Linked DNA regions of Homo sapiens: all the other regions are linked to region 1. Evidence: promoter capture Hi-C in 16 types of primary human blood cells and fetal thymus (Javierre and others, 2016). All regions are on one chromosome and are shown on one strand. Each heading gives the region's core, a stretch centred on a gene start or on the middle of the fragment in contact. The rest is flanking DNA. Distances are from core to core; before and after follow the strand shown. Region 1 holds the start of TAS2R40 (taste 2 receptor member 40). Region 2 has its middle 36 kb from the start of PRSS58. Region 3 has its middle 73 kb from the start of MIR11400. Region 4 has its middle 120 kb from the start of PRSS1. Region 5 has its middle 100 kb from the start of PRSS1.

Region 1 (3,146 bases), core at 309-2,808:
ACTCTGCAGCACTTGATAATTTCCAGCAGCCTTTCTTTCCTGAATCTTCTTTTTCTGTAGCCACTCTGGTTTCCCTTCTACCCCGTGGACTGAGTGCTGTGCTCTGCTTCACCAGCCCTAACTGTGTGTTAGTTGGGTGTCTTAAGTAGGATGATCATGTAATTCTTCATCCAGACCATGATATTCTTGAGAATTAAAGGATGCTCAATTGACAACAGACAATAAACAGAGATTGTCCCTGGCAAACCGATATGTCTGGCCACCCTCTCCTTAAGGCTCAGGAGGAGAAGAAAGTGGAGAGATCTCAGGGCAGGATATGAATGAACATAGTTCAAGGAGCTTTCAAAGTCCATCTTCAGGTTTCTTAGTTACTTCTGTTTAGAATCTCAAGTTAAAAATTCAGCTTCATATTTATAAAAGGATCACGTTATCTGAGAAGTGTCAGAGCAGGTTTGGGAGAGAAGAGACGGGTGAGGAGAGAGTTCTACCTGAGGCAAAGGCAGAAGTGGTTGGACCAGGTCCCGCAGAACTCCGTGAGTTCCAGTCACAGAGTCTGCCCTTTTAGGTAAAGAGGAACTTGGTGCTGAAACCGCTTCCAGGCTCTTCTCAGCCCAGGGTTGCCCAAGATCAGTTGTACTGAGTGGCCGGCAGGGTAGGCAGCCATGATGATCTTGCACAAAATATTCCAGGAACTGTAAGTGTCAAAGATGTTGGACGTGGAAAGAAATAGAGCAATTGCATTGAAAATGTAGAGGATGAGAAAGTAGCTGGTGGCTTTGATGGCCCCTATGTGAGCCTTCATGCTGGGGTCCCTGGACCCTGTGGCATTGCTTCCCATGTGTAGGGTGTGTCTCTTGAGAGAGAGGATCAGCAGGGTGGCTGCCAGGATGAACATGATCAGAGGAACGAAGATCCCCATGTTATAGAAAAATACCAGGTTGACCATATTGGTCTCAGAGAAGTACTTCTTCTCCGTGGAGTTGGAGGAGGGGATAGGAATGGAGCTATTCACATACACATTGAAGACATCTCTCGAGAGAGGAAAGCTGAAGCTTAAGGAAACCAACACTGACAGCCTGAGAAGCCAAGGCATCAGCACTATGATTTTCCTCTTCATCAGGAAGAACAAAGGATGATTGAAGTTTGCAATTCTAAGACAATAGAAGACTTTGAGCCAGGCAGCAAACCAGAGATTGGAATGGTTCAGAAAGACAGTGATGACTTTGAAGAGGATATACACTGAGTTTTGGTTATAAACAATTCGGAATAGCAGACTGAAAATGTTCTCCAGCATCATCCAAATCTGTAGCAAGAGCCTGGAAAAGCTCAGCATCAACATAATGCGGTCACCAGTGGGGAGTGTTTTGCCCCTGGCCCACTCAGCCCCATAGATGGCCGTGATGAAGCCACTCCCAAGGATGCCAGTGATGCACTCTATTCCGGAGACCACCAAAGTGAAGGTGACCTTGAACTTGGATATGTCTTTATCTGTGGCATCTGTGTTCACCGTTGCCATTCTCTTTGATCCTGACTTTCAGGTTTCTGCGCCAAGAATGGGTAACTGCTCTGCAATCTTCTGACCCTTGCTCAATGTTATAATTTCTGCCGCCCTCATTAATGGTTATTTCCAATTTTTCTCCATTTGTTTATCACATGACTACAAGTTAGAGGCTTCACATGCAAATAATGAGAGGATCTGGTTACTGGGTCTGTCTCAATTTTTCATAAAGATACATTTGTCTTGGGCTTTCAGAAGCTCACTGGAAATAATTTGAGACATGTTTCTAGCTCAACACCTTCTTACCTTATTTACTTTAAGTCCACATTTACCTGATAAGCAATGAATACAAGGCCTTTTTACTTGTCTCACAAGATCTCTGTTACCTGCTAAATTATTTGTAAAAGCTCATACAGCTTTTAAAATCTGTTTTCCCCACTTCTTTTCTTGTCTCTCTTATTTTGGGAGAGAGTTTTATTTTGATAGTTACCATGTTTGTGAATAAGAAATTCCCATAAGCTCATATATGAACATCTTTTACTTAGAATTGAGTTTCTTCCAAAAAGGCCTGCTATTATAATGTCCTCGAATAGTATATAGAAAAGCCAAAATTGGATGCTATTCGAGTTGGAGAGAAGGAAGTCTCCATAGTCCCAGTTTTTATTGTTTGTGTATGTGTCATCAATTTCAGCTTACTGAGATCCCACATGACTATTTGAGCTCAGAATCAGGTAGAATGAGCCTGGGGAGAATTCAGTGTTCTGGACATGGTGTTGAAGTTTGGAAATGTGATAAGGTACTATGACTTGAAATTTAATTTCCTACTTTTTAACCCTGGCTGTGAACCAGAATGAACTCTGGCACTTTACAAGAATATGTAGATGCCCAGGACTCGTCCAAATCTAGGAAATCAGAACTGGACTAGGGCTCAGGCATGCTATCTTTTAAAAAAGCCGAAAGGTCTTGTTGCTCATAGTCAGGATTGAGATCCAAAATCTTAGCTGGAAACCAATGAGCCTTGGGTCAGATTTGGCCTGTAGTCATTTTACCTTGCATTGGTTAATGCTGTACAGCATTAATCCACCAGTGTGTAACTTTTCTTTTTGAGGGGTTCTATTGGCAAACATTTAAACTTAGGAGATTACTTATATGCATGCACAAAAAATCTATCTTCTCTTGAAAAATTAGAAGATTTGGCAGTATTGGGTCTTCATAGTGAACTGGCTGAAGCTGAGTAATGGCTGCCCATTTTAAACAAGGTATATACTTTTCAGTTTGTTGACAATACTAATTCCTAGTGTCTTCTTGACACAGAAGCTGAGTGCCAGTTATCATTTTCCAGTGTGCTTACCCTGTTATTTTTATTTGATTATTTTTCTTTTTGAGACTGGGTCTCACTCTATCACCCAGGCTGGAGTGCAGTGGTGTAATCATGGCTCACTGCAGCCTTGACCTCCATAGCTCAGGTGATCCCCACACTTCAGCCACCTGAGTAGCTGGGACTACAGATGCATGCCAACACACCTGGCTAAGTTTTGTATTTTTTGTAGAGACAGAGTTTCGCCATGTTGGCTAGGCTGATCTTGAATTCTTGGGCTCAAGCAATCCTCCCATCTCAGCCTCCGAAAATACTGGGACTATAGGTGTG
Region 2 (3,146 bases), core at 204-2,703, 930 kb after region 1:
CTAGATGGTGTGACTGAGCCAATATTGAGAAGAAATAACTTTTTAAAATCACTATATGATATTTGACTGACCATCAAATAATCGGGCCCAAACTATTCTCATCAGCATTCATAGACTATATAGAAAACCAATTATCAGTTGGGGATTGATGCAATTGGAGAAGGTTTTTTGAAGGAGAGTACTCTAAGCCAGATCTTAGGGCAATCTATCTAATCCTGTTCCAAGTATTTTTTTTCTAAGAAACTATTTCTGCTGAATTGTCTACAAAGAAGCCAGCATTAGCTTTGACTACTACTACCTGGCATGCTATTTCCCAGTAACAGGGAGACACTTTTTTGATTTCCTTTCACAATTTGTAACTGCTACCTAAAGAGAAAAATGTATATTTGCTGGGCTGGAGTTTTCACTTATCTGACTCATCTTTAACTATTTTAGAACCTACAATCTTCTTTTCGCTTTGTTGTCTACTTATCTTCTTACTATCTCTCTCCTGATCCTATGTCCCCAAGCTATAGGACAGAGAGAAAAAGAGTCAAAGCTCTAACAAGACGATTTTCCAGCTCGACAGAAGGAAGAAGTTTCCAGAAGGTCCTGTGGTTTCCTGTCCAGAATAGAGGCTGGATGACTGTTGGTGAAGATGTTTTGGACAAGGCTTAAGTGCCCAATGGGGCAAAGAAGAACAGAAGAACTTAAGCATCTACTCTATGCCAGAGACAGTGTCATAAACTGGAAATTTTAACATACAATATTTTCTTCAGAAGCTCGTATTCTAGTTGAAGAGAAAAGGAAATCAAAGCCTGCAACAAAATTCAAAAGTTATAATAGCAACATGCACAGGGTTTCAAAATGGCACCGATAAGAAATAGAACGGATTAGCATCTAACCAATTGGGGCATTATGGCAGTAGAGTTAGGGGAGGTCATAGGTTAATGTCAGAGATTAATTATAGATAGAGATGATACTTCAGGTAAATTTAATGGATGACTAGAAGTTCACCAGCAAAGAGGGAAAGTAACCTCATTCATTCATTCAGCAGTTATTCACTGAGCAATTACTATGTGCCACGTACATACCGGCTTTGAGGTGTAATAGTGAGCAAATCAGACATCATTTATGCCCTCAGGAATTTTAAACAACCTGGAAAAAATAGACATTAAGCAGATATTTATACAAGTAATATGTGACTGGAAGTAAATGTAATGAAAGTAAAGCTGCCTAGAAAGTTCAGGAAGGCCTGACTTTAGTTGGAGAATGCAGGTGGAGTTCAGAGTTCTCCACGATTAGAGTTGAAGAATGATGGGAGTTAACCAGGTAAGGTGTGTGGGAAGGCACAGAGGTTTAAAACAGCATACAGTGTCCAAGAACATGAACTTTGGTGCTGGAATTTAAACTTATCCTGATGTCAATGTGGAGCCACCAAAGCATTTTAAGCGGAAAATGTAATGATCCATGTGCATTTTAGAAAGATTACTCTGATGTGGAGAGTGAGTTGAAGGAGAATAAAGCCACAAACAAGGAAGTGGTTTTAGCACGATTTCAATAATTCAGGAGAGAAAATGTGATACTGAACCAAGTCATAGGTGGTTGACTTGAAAGGAAAATCAAGGATCTTCAAAGAAAAGTCAAGGATCTTTAAGACAGGTAAAATCGTCAAGACTTTGAATACAGGTAGTAAGCAAGGTGGATAAAGAAGTTAAGGGTGGGCCAGGTGTGGTAGCTTAGGCCTATAATCCCAGCACTTTGGAAGCCCAAGGCAGGTGGATCACCTGAGGTCAGGAGTTCGAGACCAGCCTGGCCAACATGGCAAAATCCCATCTCTACTAAAAATACAAAAATAACCCGGCATGGTGGCACACGCCTGTAATCCCAGTTACTTGGGAGGCTAAGGCAGGAGAATCGCTTGAACCCAGGAGGAGGAGGTTGCAGTGGGCCGAGATCGCATCATTTGCACTCCAGCCTGGGTGATAAGAGTGAAACTCAGTCAAAAAAAAAAAAAAGTTAAGGGTGACTTCTGTGTTTCAAGTTTGGCTAACCATATGTGTGTAGCTTCATTGCACTGACAGAAAATATAGAAAGAGAAAGCTATGATGAATTCAGCGCTAGACTAGCTGACCCTAGGTATGGGAGCAGACATGTTCAGTAGAAGTTGGATCTGAGAAGAGCTCAGGTGAGAGTCAGTATTTGAGGGACTGATTATGAATGATAAGAAATTAGATTATAAAAAGGCCAAGAGAGGTAATGTGCACAGTGAGAGAAGAATTTATCCATTGGTTGTATTGAAAGTATTTCATTCTTCGAGTAACGCAGCTCTGTTTAACAGTGCTTTGTGTCATCACAGTAAAACTCTATTAAATCAAGAAAGTCAAGAGTAGTCCTTAACCAGATGAGGTCTGTAAATCCCATACTTCCCTCTGAAGGCATGTTTATGAATAACTTCAGCAACAATATTTGCCATACTTGAAAAATGAAGAATCCTCCTGATGAATGTCTGGATGTCTCCTATCATACTCTTGCTGTTTCCCAGAGGTCTTGGAATATCGATAAAGTTGGTTGGTGTGATCTCGGCTCACTGCAACCTCCACTCCCCAGGTTCAAGCGATTCTGCTGCCTCAGCCTTCTGATTAGCTGGGACTACAGGTGCCCGCCACCATGCCTGGCTATTTTTTTTTGTATTTTAGTAGAGACGGGGTTTCACCATGTTGGCCAGGATGGTCTTGATCTCCTGACCTCGTGATCTGCCCACCTCGGCCTCCCAAAGTGCTGGGATTATAGGCTTGAGCCACTGCGCCCAGCCCTGTTCTCTCTTATTATATTCACGGCATCACTGTTGAGGGCATGAACCCTGAAGTGAGGCTGCTTAAGTTTTAACCATAGATTGGCCACTTAACAGCTATGAAACTTTGATATACTCACTTGACTTCTTTTAGCCTCTTTCTCCACATCTCTTAAATGGTGAAATTTGTAGTTTAACACTTACGATGCTGCTTGTGAAGACTGAATGAGTTGATGCACGTAATCCACTTCCACAGTGCTGGACACATAGTAAATACTTTAAAAATTTCAGCTATGTTATCATTGTCCAAGAATTTTGCATTATCTTGGCATCCAGATTTTGGTGAACTTACTGAGAGAAGTGTTTCATAGTG
Region 3 (3,146 bases), core at 286-2,785, 820 kb after region 1:
ACAGGGTTTCTGTTTGGGGTGATGAAAATAATTTTGGAAATGGATAATGCTGATAATTCCACAACAAGGTGAATGTACTTAATGTCATTGAATTGTACATTTAAAAAATAAAGTGATGAAATTATATGTTACGTGCATTTTATCATACTTTTTAAAAGATGGAAAGACTACCTTCAAAATAGGAAAAACACTGACAGTTGCATTCTCCATTATTGAACTTAAAGACAATGAAAGGAACCCAAGTGATTTAAATACATTGATAAATTTTCCAGAAATGTGGTTTGTCACAATATATCCCACAGTGGGTTTTCTGATGTAGTTGTAATTATCTTTTGTAATAAATATACAAACAATTTTCACCAGCCCATATGTCTACTCAAATGTAGGACTGTCATTCCTTGGAAAAGTATCCAATCTAGTAATTTTGAAATCATAACTTACTGTTTCAGGTTGCAATATTCTGATTGTAAGTAAGGTTGCGAAGTTATTCTCATGTTTAGTGGTAACTTATGTTCACTCTTGTGTGAATTGCCTACTCAGCCTCAGTATTGCTATTTTTATTGAGCTGTCTTCTTAATACTAAGTAATAAGAATATTTTACTCATTCTAGATACTAATTCTCTTAGACAAGAACAGCTGTGCTACAGAAAACAAAACAAACAAAACAAATCCTAAAATCTCACTGGCATAGCTCTATGAAGTCTTACTTCCCATGACCACAAAGCCCAGTGTGGCATGAGCAGCTTTCTTCTGTGATTGTCCACCAAATTCTGACTCAGTGAGCCAGGCTGCTTCCATATTATCATTAGGCAATCTGTACCGTGTAGCTCCCGAGTTCAGGACATGGCAAAAGAGAGTTGAAGAGTGTCTGTGCACAAGAGTTGACAGGAGGCTGGAGACTGCGGTGCTTAGAAAGTCCTGCTTGCAAGATTGGACTCTGGCAGACATCTGGGAGCTTGGCTGGTGAACGGTGCCCTGAACTGATGCAAAGTTTCTCCTGACTGACAGGGGTGGCTCATCGTTCCTAGGCTGGTGTTGCAAATAATATTATGCTGAACATCAGATTTTCTTTTGGGATCTAGACTTTTGGTTCATGCTAAAAAGTAGGTGCCTGTGTGACCAGCTTCTACTAAAACCTCTTGGGTGCTAAGTCTGTAATGGGCTCCCTTGGCAGATACACTGCACGTGTGTTAATGCATTTTTGCTGCTGGGAGGAGAGAGAGCTCTGTGTGACCCCTCCTGAGAGGAAGAGAGCATAAGGAAGCCTGCCTGTGAATTCCTCCAGATTCTGCCTGTGTGTTTTCTCCACATGTTCTGCTGCAGAGTATTTACTATGACACTTTAATAAATCTTAGCCATGAGTACAACTCTATGCCATATACCAACACTCTAAACATGGGAGTACATTTAGAGACCCTCAACATGGTGCCACAGAATATTTTTAAGGGCCAGGCTTGAAATGAGCTGACATCATTTTATCCCACTATTCAGAACCTGGTGACATGTTCCCACCCCTCCAACTGCAAGGGAGACCAGAAACCATGGAGGAGCTACAGGTATTCAGTGATGTTCTGAATGTTCTCTGTTACACTGAATGTTCTCTGTCACACTGATTTTTCATCATTTGTATGCATTCCTCATGCCTTTCCCAGGCTGTAGCTTAACTTTATTTTTTATGGTGTGTTTTGGCTTGAAACAATTTAATGCAACTAGCGTTATGAATGTTGTTCTTTTGGCTTGTGGCTTTTTGTCTCCTCTAAAAATGTCATCCCTCAACTGAATGCATAAAATGCTTTTCTTAAATTTTTCTAGTAAACTTTCTTTTTTGCTTTTTACAATTAAGAGCAAGTGTGCCTGAAATACACTTTAATTTAAGAAATGAAGTAGAGATGTAGGACTAAGTGGGTGGTATGTATGCTCAGTGCAGAAGAAAGAATTTATATAAACAATCCCCAGGGTGGAAAACAACAGACACATATGAAGAAATAACTGCATGTAAGGGAGTGTGGCTGGAGCAGAGAGCCAGGGAAAACATGGTGCAAAATGATGATGAAGAGGTACGTAAATGGCTAATGATATAGGACCTCGTGGGTCTATTGCCCTTAGAATAAAGGGCCCCCAGGAGCAGAGACCACATGGGCAAAGATTTATGATTGGGAGTTGAAAGGCAGTAGAGGGTAGGGGAAAGGGTATGTGGAAAAGTCACCCAGCCCTTAGGGTAGAGAAGAATATGGTGGGTTTCAAATTTTCAACGAAATTAGGAATCTCGACTAAAGATGCCTTTTCCATTTTACAAAAGGAAAGAGGGAACTGCAGAAGCTAAGGGTGTTGGGGTGACCTCCAGTTGGTCTGAGACTGGGGTAGGAATGGACCTCAACATCAAGGTTTATATGGCCCCTGCTCTATGGCCCCCAGGCTAGCCAGGGCTCTCCGACTCCTGTGAAGGCTGGGACTTGGGAGCACAGGCAACCTCAGTCATTCTAACTGCCCTTTATGTGCAGAGAGGAGGCAGCTGTGCAGCACTGTGGACTCACTGCTGGCGCAGAAATATACAGATGTCTGGGAGGAGGCAGCAGACTCCAGAGTGAGGGGGAGGTCCTCTGTGTTTGATCTAGAGACACTGTAGCCATCTGAGACTTCTCCTTTGTTAGTGTCGTGAACACCATATGAGTAATGGATCAGCCTCAGCCCATGTCCCAGGTCTTGTCGATACCAGAACATATTGTTGTGGTTCCAAGTCTGGTGACACGCCAAGGTCACCTGCCTTCCTGTCTCTGTGATCTTGTGTCTTGGGCTCTGGGTGATTTCAGCATCCCTGTGTCCTGTAATAGAGAACAACAGATGCTGATGCTGTCATCCCAACAGAAAAGCCTGCACTGAGGCCTTGGGAATTCCAGGGAAGGAGGCCCTCCTGTGACCAGCCCTCACCTGCCCACAGCAGACAAAGGGCCACATAGAAGAAGAGCCTCGTGCCCATTTCAGCTCCAGGGCAGGATCTTGTGTCTCCCAGCCCTGCTGTGGGCAGACTGAAGTTGGGCTCTCAGTGACTTGATGATGTCACTGTTCCTGCTGAATGCTTGAACTGCGGAGCTAACCTGCCATGCCCCTTCTCTTCCCCGCAGGAACAAATTATTTATAACAGAGTT
Region 4 (3,146 bases), core at 451-2,950, 590 kb after region 1:
CTCTCGTTAAAAAACATAACTGCTTGTAGTATGTGAAAATAAAATAATGTTTTATATTTATGTTAAATTCAGTAAACTTACTACATTTTGTTATTGATAATGCATTGCTTCTTTAGACCCTTTTGAATCTCTATAAATAAACTTGTCGTGCGCCAATACTTATTTTTCTTTCCTTTCTCATTTTCAACTTTTTCCCCTTGTTTCACTGGTTGCAAATTCAGCACAATGTTGAATAGAAATCACGGTATTATTCATTTATATATTTATCAACTGTGTAGAAATCACACAACTACAGGTGCCAGATATGGGTAAACGCTAAGGGTTATTACAAAATGTTAAGATTAGATCCTGCCATTTTAAAGACCAATTGGCCTCCCAGGATATCTGCAATTTTTTTGGTCAGTCAGTACCTAAACATCTCATCTGAAATATCCGGTGAAGCTGTGAGTCCCCACTTGATGAGCGGCAGATATTTTATAGAAAGATCCACATCACCCTCTAGTGGTCAAAGGAGCGAATTCATCCAATGCCCGCGGAGCTCTGCCTCGGCCTGCCTGAGTCGGGAGTGGCCCGCCCGGCAGCGAGGCAGCAAAAAGGCATTCCAGGTATCAGAGCGAAATTAAGAAAAAAGCAGCACTTGATGTGCTACCTGCCACATACTCCACAGCATTGTTACTAGCAATTACTTACACAATTATTCAGCCATTAGTCTAATGCCGATGGTGGTTTATCAGTGCATTTTGCCTCCCTCAACCTTTTATAGTCCCCCAAGGCAGGTGTGCTCCCTAAACCGCTATCCTATGCTCTCTGATCTTTTCATTGTAAACTGTATATCAAGGGATTGGAGGCACTTTCATTCTTCCAGTGATGCTAAATGTCCCAAAGGTGTGCTTCTTATCCAGATCCATTTTCTGAGTCCATGACTTGTACATCCAACTGCTCTCTGCATATTCCTGGTTAGATTACTGTCCCTAAGGCACTCCCAATCTCAAAGTAAATCTTGATCTTCTTCCCACTTGGTCCTTCTTATTTGTCTGTGTGTAGCAGTCTCTCTTAATCACCACCCACCACCCCCTGCATATTGCTGCTCATGTCTAATCAATTGCCAAGTCCTTTGATTTACTTCCTTTTAAATGTCTCATTTTCCCCATATTTCTAACACCATCATCATTATCTGAGCTAAACTACTGCTTGCCTGAGCTAAGTTTTTCCTCCGCATCAACTCTGTTCACACTGCTGGAGGGTGGCAGCATAAGCCTCCCAACCCTCTGCCCAAAATATGCCACTTTGGCATAAGGAATATTTTGAGCTAGAGGCATTAAAGACAATAGCAAGTATAAGAGGAGTACTCTGACCCTTCCCCTTTTCTTCTTGAAAAATGGAATAAGCTTCCCATATAAAAGATGTCTTATCTATACCAGGAAAAAAGAATATTCTTAACATCCAAGATAGAATGGGATGATGTTGAGGCCAAGGAATCTGTAACAAAAAAAGCTTGTTAAACTAATCCTCACCTTCCTAGTCACTTTGCCATTCAACCAGCAACCCTAGCCTAAGCCCCTTTACTTTTTCACCTTTCCACAATGTATGACCCTTTGCCCAATTCAATATATGAATGTTCAACTCTAACTGCACATTCAGTTCTTCCTTTAATTATGGGGGCTTTCATGTGATGTAAAACTTGTATTAAATACATGTGTATGCTTTCCTTCCTGTTAATCTTCCATTCTCAGGACCAGCCGAAAAACTGCAAGAGGGTAGAGGTAACATTTTGCCTTCCCTGCATGGTCCATTATTTCTTCACTTTGTGACCAGGGTGATTAAATACACAGATACACACACAGCCACGAATCTGATTACTAAAGAAGTCAAATGTTGAAAACCTCAGTGTCTCCTATTAAGCTTTATGTTGGATTCTGTATCATTTACCTTGACCAGTAAGGTTCTGAGTGGTCTGGTGCCTTCCTGCCTTCTTCAATTTTGCCCTGTACTCAACCACCTCCTCCCCCTGCTCCTGTCACTCTGCTGACTTCTTTCCTGTCATTAAACACACTAATTTCTTTCCTGATTAAAACATTTTGCACTGGTTCTTTAATCTTTCTTAAATGCCCTTGAATTCATTATCCCTCGTCCCACTTAATTAACTCTAGCTCATCTTGATGTAAGGTATTTAGGAATAATATTTAAAATTTCTTCCTATACCTTTTATTAAAAGGAGGATAACAATTAAATATGCAATATCAGGGGCTTCAGACTCTCCAGGGAGTATTTCATCAATAATTACTTTCAAGAAATTAGACATAGTTCATTTTTTAGGATAAAAGAGTCTTAACTGGTTTTCAAAAATGGCACCAGATAGGAGATTACAGATAAAAGACACTCACATATTTATGGGTAGTTAAAATTGACTACTGGTCAGTTAATAGGAGTCACACTGCTTTCCACATTCCAGAATGGAAAAACAGCAGCAGAGGTATGAAGTTGAGAAGTAGCTTATCAAATATTCATCTTTGGACACCTGAGATGGTGCATGTACTATAGCAAATGGGTTGAGACTCTGGGAAACCAGTTCGAGAGATTATTTTTGACATTAAGAATGGGGATATCCAAGGATATAGAGGAATTAGACGACCCTAGCTCCCTTGAAACCTCTGAAATTCTTCCCATGGCTTCTCCATTACTGGGAAAAACAGTGCCTCCGTGTGTGTGTGTGTGTGTGTGTGTATGTGTGTGTGTGTGTGTGTGTTGGGGAGGAGGATGTAAGAGTCTGTCTCTTACCTCACCCATCACTGCCTCTGAAAGGTGAACTTGATTTTAAATACAACAAAGCACAGAGAGTAGAATATAAAATCAGAACAAAAAGTTCAACACTTCAAAAAGAATTGCTAATCAAAAATTTATGTCATTCAAAATTTACAGGAAATGTGATAGGATTTTATTTTGTTGGTACTTGTCCAAGGAAGACAGAACACAAATATGGACTGAATGCTGTTCAATGCTGTTGTCTCGTTTCCTAAGGTAATATAGGTAGGCAGTAGGCTGTGTCCTTGACAGTCAGCTGGTTTGGGAATGTCAGGTCTGAACCCAGCAGCGTTCCATGCTAAATGTCACCGAAACACTACACTCCTCAGCTTAACGTAGACGGA
Region 5 (3,146 bases), core at 311-2,810, 570 kb after region 1:
TCTCATCTGAAATTTCCAACATTTGTATTATTTCAGGGTTGGTTTTTATTGTTTATTTTTTTCCCATGTGTAACATTTCCTAGTTCTTCCCATGTCTAATATTTTTTTTCATGTCAAGATCAAAATTGTAGATGCTGCATTGTTGACACTCTAGAGATACATATCTCTCTACAGACTTATATATCTACAGATTATATATATGTATATGTTTATATTTGCCTTTATTTAGAGAGTGCTGAGATATTTTTCTTCAAAAGGCAGTGAACTTATTGGAAGATCAGCGACATCCTTTTGAGACTTGCTGAACTTTGTTAGGGCAGTTCTGGAGTGGTTTACTCTAGGACGTTGGTAGTCCTTCTCTTGAGATGTGACCCTTATGTGGTGCCAGCTGCATTCCCAGGGGTTTCAGCAAGGCCTCTCAGCTCTGCCCAGTCAGGATTCATGTCTCCCATGCTCGTATGACTGTCAGAATCTCTATTCCTCTCACAACTACCCAGCAACTGTTCTCTGCCAGGTCTTATGGAGGCGTTTCCCATGCATTTGCTGCTTAGTTTTTGACCAAAGACTTAAGGGGACCTCATAAAATATTTGGAGGTCTTATTCTGCATAGCTTCCTTCTCTGCAGTAGCTTATCCCTATCACTATCAGCCATGTCCATACTTCTGAACTCAATCTCTGCCTCCCTATGCTGGGTAGACCACTGCCCACTGCTTGGGCTTCATATACTTGTGGTGCAGCCCAGAAGTCATACCAAGGCAGAGTCTTAGGACAATAGCGAAATTCCCCTTCTAGGTTTCCTCTTTCCCAGAGATGGCGACGTGTACTGCCTGTTGTCTGATGTCTGAACATAGTTGTCTTACAATTTTTGTCAAGTTTTATAGTGGCTTAAGGCAATAGAACAAGTACAGTAACAACTATCTATTTTGATTTAGAGCCAAATTCCCAAAAATAAGCATTTTAAAGGTTTTTGTTCCAGATTGTCAAACTGACACTATTACAAGTAGTTTAAAAGAGTAACACTTTGACTAGACTCTTAATCAAATTGGACAACAAAATTCATTTGTAAGTGTTCTCAAACACATTTTTACTAATATTTCATTCCATATTCATATGAATTTTCTGTATTCATATTCTCATTCACTATTAAATTATTTGATTTTTTTCAATTGTTAACTTTATGGTAAACCCTGATGGTTTTCAGGAAATCATTTAAAATTTGTTTTCCTAAATTTATTTTTTTCCCAAACTTCCTCAGGAATTTGTTTTAATTTATCCACTGATAAATCACTCCCAAAGACAATATAATGTTCTAATGTTTTTCATGAAAGTAATCTATATTTTGTCATCCTTATACACATTATTTGAAATACATTTTGATGGTTCTTTTTACTCTTCTCCCTTTCCCCAGAGACCAAAATTCCATGTAGTGTAGCTGAAAGTTTCTGAATGCCTTTATGTCTCAGTGAATGGGAGTTGCTCTGTAAGCATTTGTGAAATCAAAATGGATCAGCTGTCATATCAAGAGCTCAAGGAGATAGGTGTTTGCAGTGGATGGAATTTGGCCCTAAAAGAGATAATGTGTGGGCAAGTATTAAGTCTTCCAAAAAGATGTGTGAAGTTTTTCTGTCCTTTGCTATAACCAGGCAGCATAATTCACTTAGAAAAGAGCAATAAGAATTAATTTGAATCAAATTTGCCCCATATTGTAAAAAAGCACAGCTAAATGGAGTGAAGCATTTTTTCAGCAGTTCTGGATGGAAAGGGTTGTCAGTGGGTGATAGTAGTTTGGGGACAGCCATGGCTGGTAACTTTTCTATGCTGCTTAAAGACATGAGTAATAATGGAAGAGACAGCAAGTTGAGCACTCAGCAGAGTGGAAGTGAAAGATAGAAGTCTCATTCACATAATGGAGATAACACGCATGCACCTGCTAAGGTAAGAGATCACCTGGTTCCTCCCACATCTACTGATTCTTTGAAGTCTGGGACAGAGGTGGTGCCATATTGGGTGGTGGTATTTCCAGTGCCTAAAGTTTCAGAAAGGAGACTAATATCTTGTATATCTCAGGACCCCCTACAAATCATTGAGGAAAATATAGAACTGTCAATAGAGAATTTGCCAGCGGATATGGATAGGCCATTTTGAGAACAGAAATCCAGGACCACTATCACATGAAGAAGTGCTCAAACTCATTAGTAATTAGAAAATTGCAAAGGAAAGAAAAGGAGGGAGAGAACATTATTCAGCCTTCTAGATTGCTGCCAGTTATTATTATAGTAGTATAACGTAATCTCTCAGTTCCTTTAAATTATTGGTTTTATTTAGTTTTAAAAAATTGTCACCTGTATCTTTATGGTAAACACTGATGATATTCTGGCAGTAGGTGAGAGGGTTGCAGGGGTGGGGGGTGGAGAGAAAGAGAGACAGAGATTGGAATCTCTTTACATTGCTAGACTGAGAACAATCTAGATCACTGGATAAGGATTAAAGGAGATATTAGGATGTAGGAAAACACCCTATTCACTTTTATGTGGGATTGCAGATGTATACAGTGATCCTGAAGAACCCGTGGTGGTATTTAGATAGATAAAATATGCATAGAATTCCATGTCTCAGCAATCATGACTTGCTCTGGGTATATAATCCTATAAAGCAATCATACAAGTCTATGAAGGTATTTGTACAAGAATTTTCAATTCTGGCAGAAAACTGGAGAAAATCTGGCTATGTATTTCTGAAGAAATGGGTATGAGTACTCTCTATCATGTAGAAGCAACAAGACCAAATGTACTTACAGAAAAACGGAGCACTTCCCTTTCTTGAGCTGAGTGGAAAAGTAATATTTATGTGATTTTAAATATATACATACATGCCTACTGCTGAGTGCTCTGTGAGAAGGTTAATGGCTGGATCATGACTGATCTGTTTTTTTCTCTTGGGATTTTGAATTGAGGCTTAGAAAGAGCCAGCCTGGTATTTATCAGTGTAGGGAAATGATGGCAACTGAATTTGTAATCTTTAGTGACCATCTCATTCTCACCACGAGGCCTGGAGAAAAAGAGATGGTGTACAGGGAGAGAAAAGCATTCAGCAGCCAAAATTGAATAAAAATCAGCGCTGGAGAGATAGCCATTCTAGAGCCCAGC

What was found. The method cuts DNA at HindIII sites, captures the fragments that hold promoters and counts their contacts. A CHiCAGO score of 5 or more calls a contact.
Region 2: a contact is called between a fragment that was not itself captured here and the fragment with the promoter of TAS2R40 in region 1, in 4 of 17 cell types (naive CD8 T cells, naive CD4 T cells, fetal thymus and 1 more). The highest score is 7.6, in naive CD8 T cells.
Region 3: a contact is called between a fragment that was not itself captured here and the fragment with the promoter of TAS2R40 in region 1, in 1 of 17 cell types (naive CD4 T cells). The highest score is 5.8, in naive CD4 T cells.
Region 4: a contact is called between a fragment that was not itself captured here and the fragment with the promoter of TAS2R40 in region 1, in 2 of 17 cell types (total B cells and naive B cells). The highest score is 10.9, in total B cells.
Region 5: a contact is called between a fragment that was not itself captured here and the fragment with the promoter of TAS2R40 in region 1, in 1 of 17 cell types (total B cells). The highest score is 6.3, in total B cells.

What each region holds. Positions count from the first base shown.
Region 1 is chr7:143,220,449-143,223,594 of GRCh38, reverse strand. TAS2R40 (taste 2 receptor member 40) reads right to left here and starts at 1,558. Exons shown (of 1, transcript NM_176882.2): 1 at 516-1,558. The coding sequence starts at 1,516. The coding sequence ends at 545. The HindIII fragment of the contact is 3,585 bases long and covers 1,055-3,146 here.
Region 2 is chr7:142,292,638-142,295,783 of GRCh38, reverse strand. No RefSeq gene overlaps it. Among named protein-coding and RNA genes, the nearest start is that of PRSS58, 36 kb to the right of the region's middle. The HindIII fragment of the contact is 5,747 bases long and covers 1-3,146 here.
Region 3 is chr7:142,399,759-142,402,904 of GRCh38, reverse strand. It overlaps TRB and TRBV10-1. Among named protein-coding and RNA genes, the nearest start is that of MIR11400, 73 kb to the left of the region's middle. The HindIII fragment of the contact is 5,689 bases long and covers 1-3,146 here.
Region 4 is chr7:142,630,054-142,633,199 of GRCh38, reverse strand. It overlaps TRB. Among named protein-coding and RNA genes, the nearest start is that of PRSS1, 120 kb to the left of the region's middle. RefSeq lists an enhancer at 353-647. The HindIII fragment of the contact is 408 bases long and covers 1,497-1,904 here.
Region 5 is chr7:142,646,668-142,649,813 of GRCh38, reverse strand. It overlaps TRB. Among named protein-coding and RNA genes, the nearest start is that of PRSS1, 100 kb to the left of the region's middle. The HindIII fragment of the contact is 4,372 bases long and covers 1-3,146 here.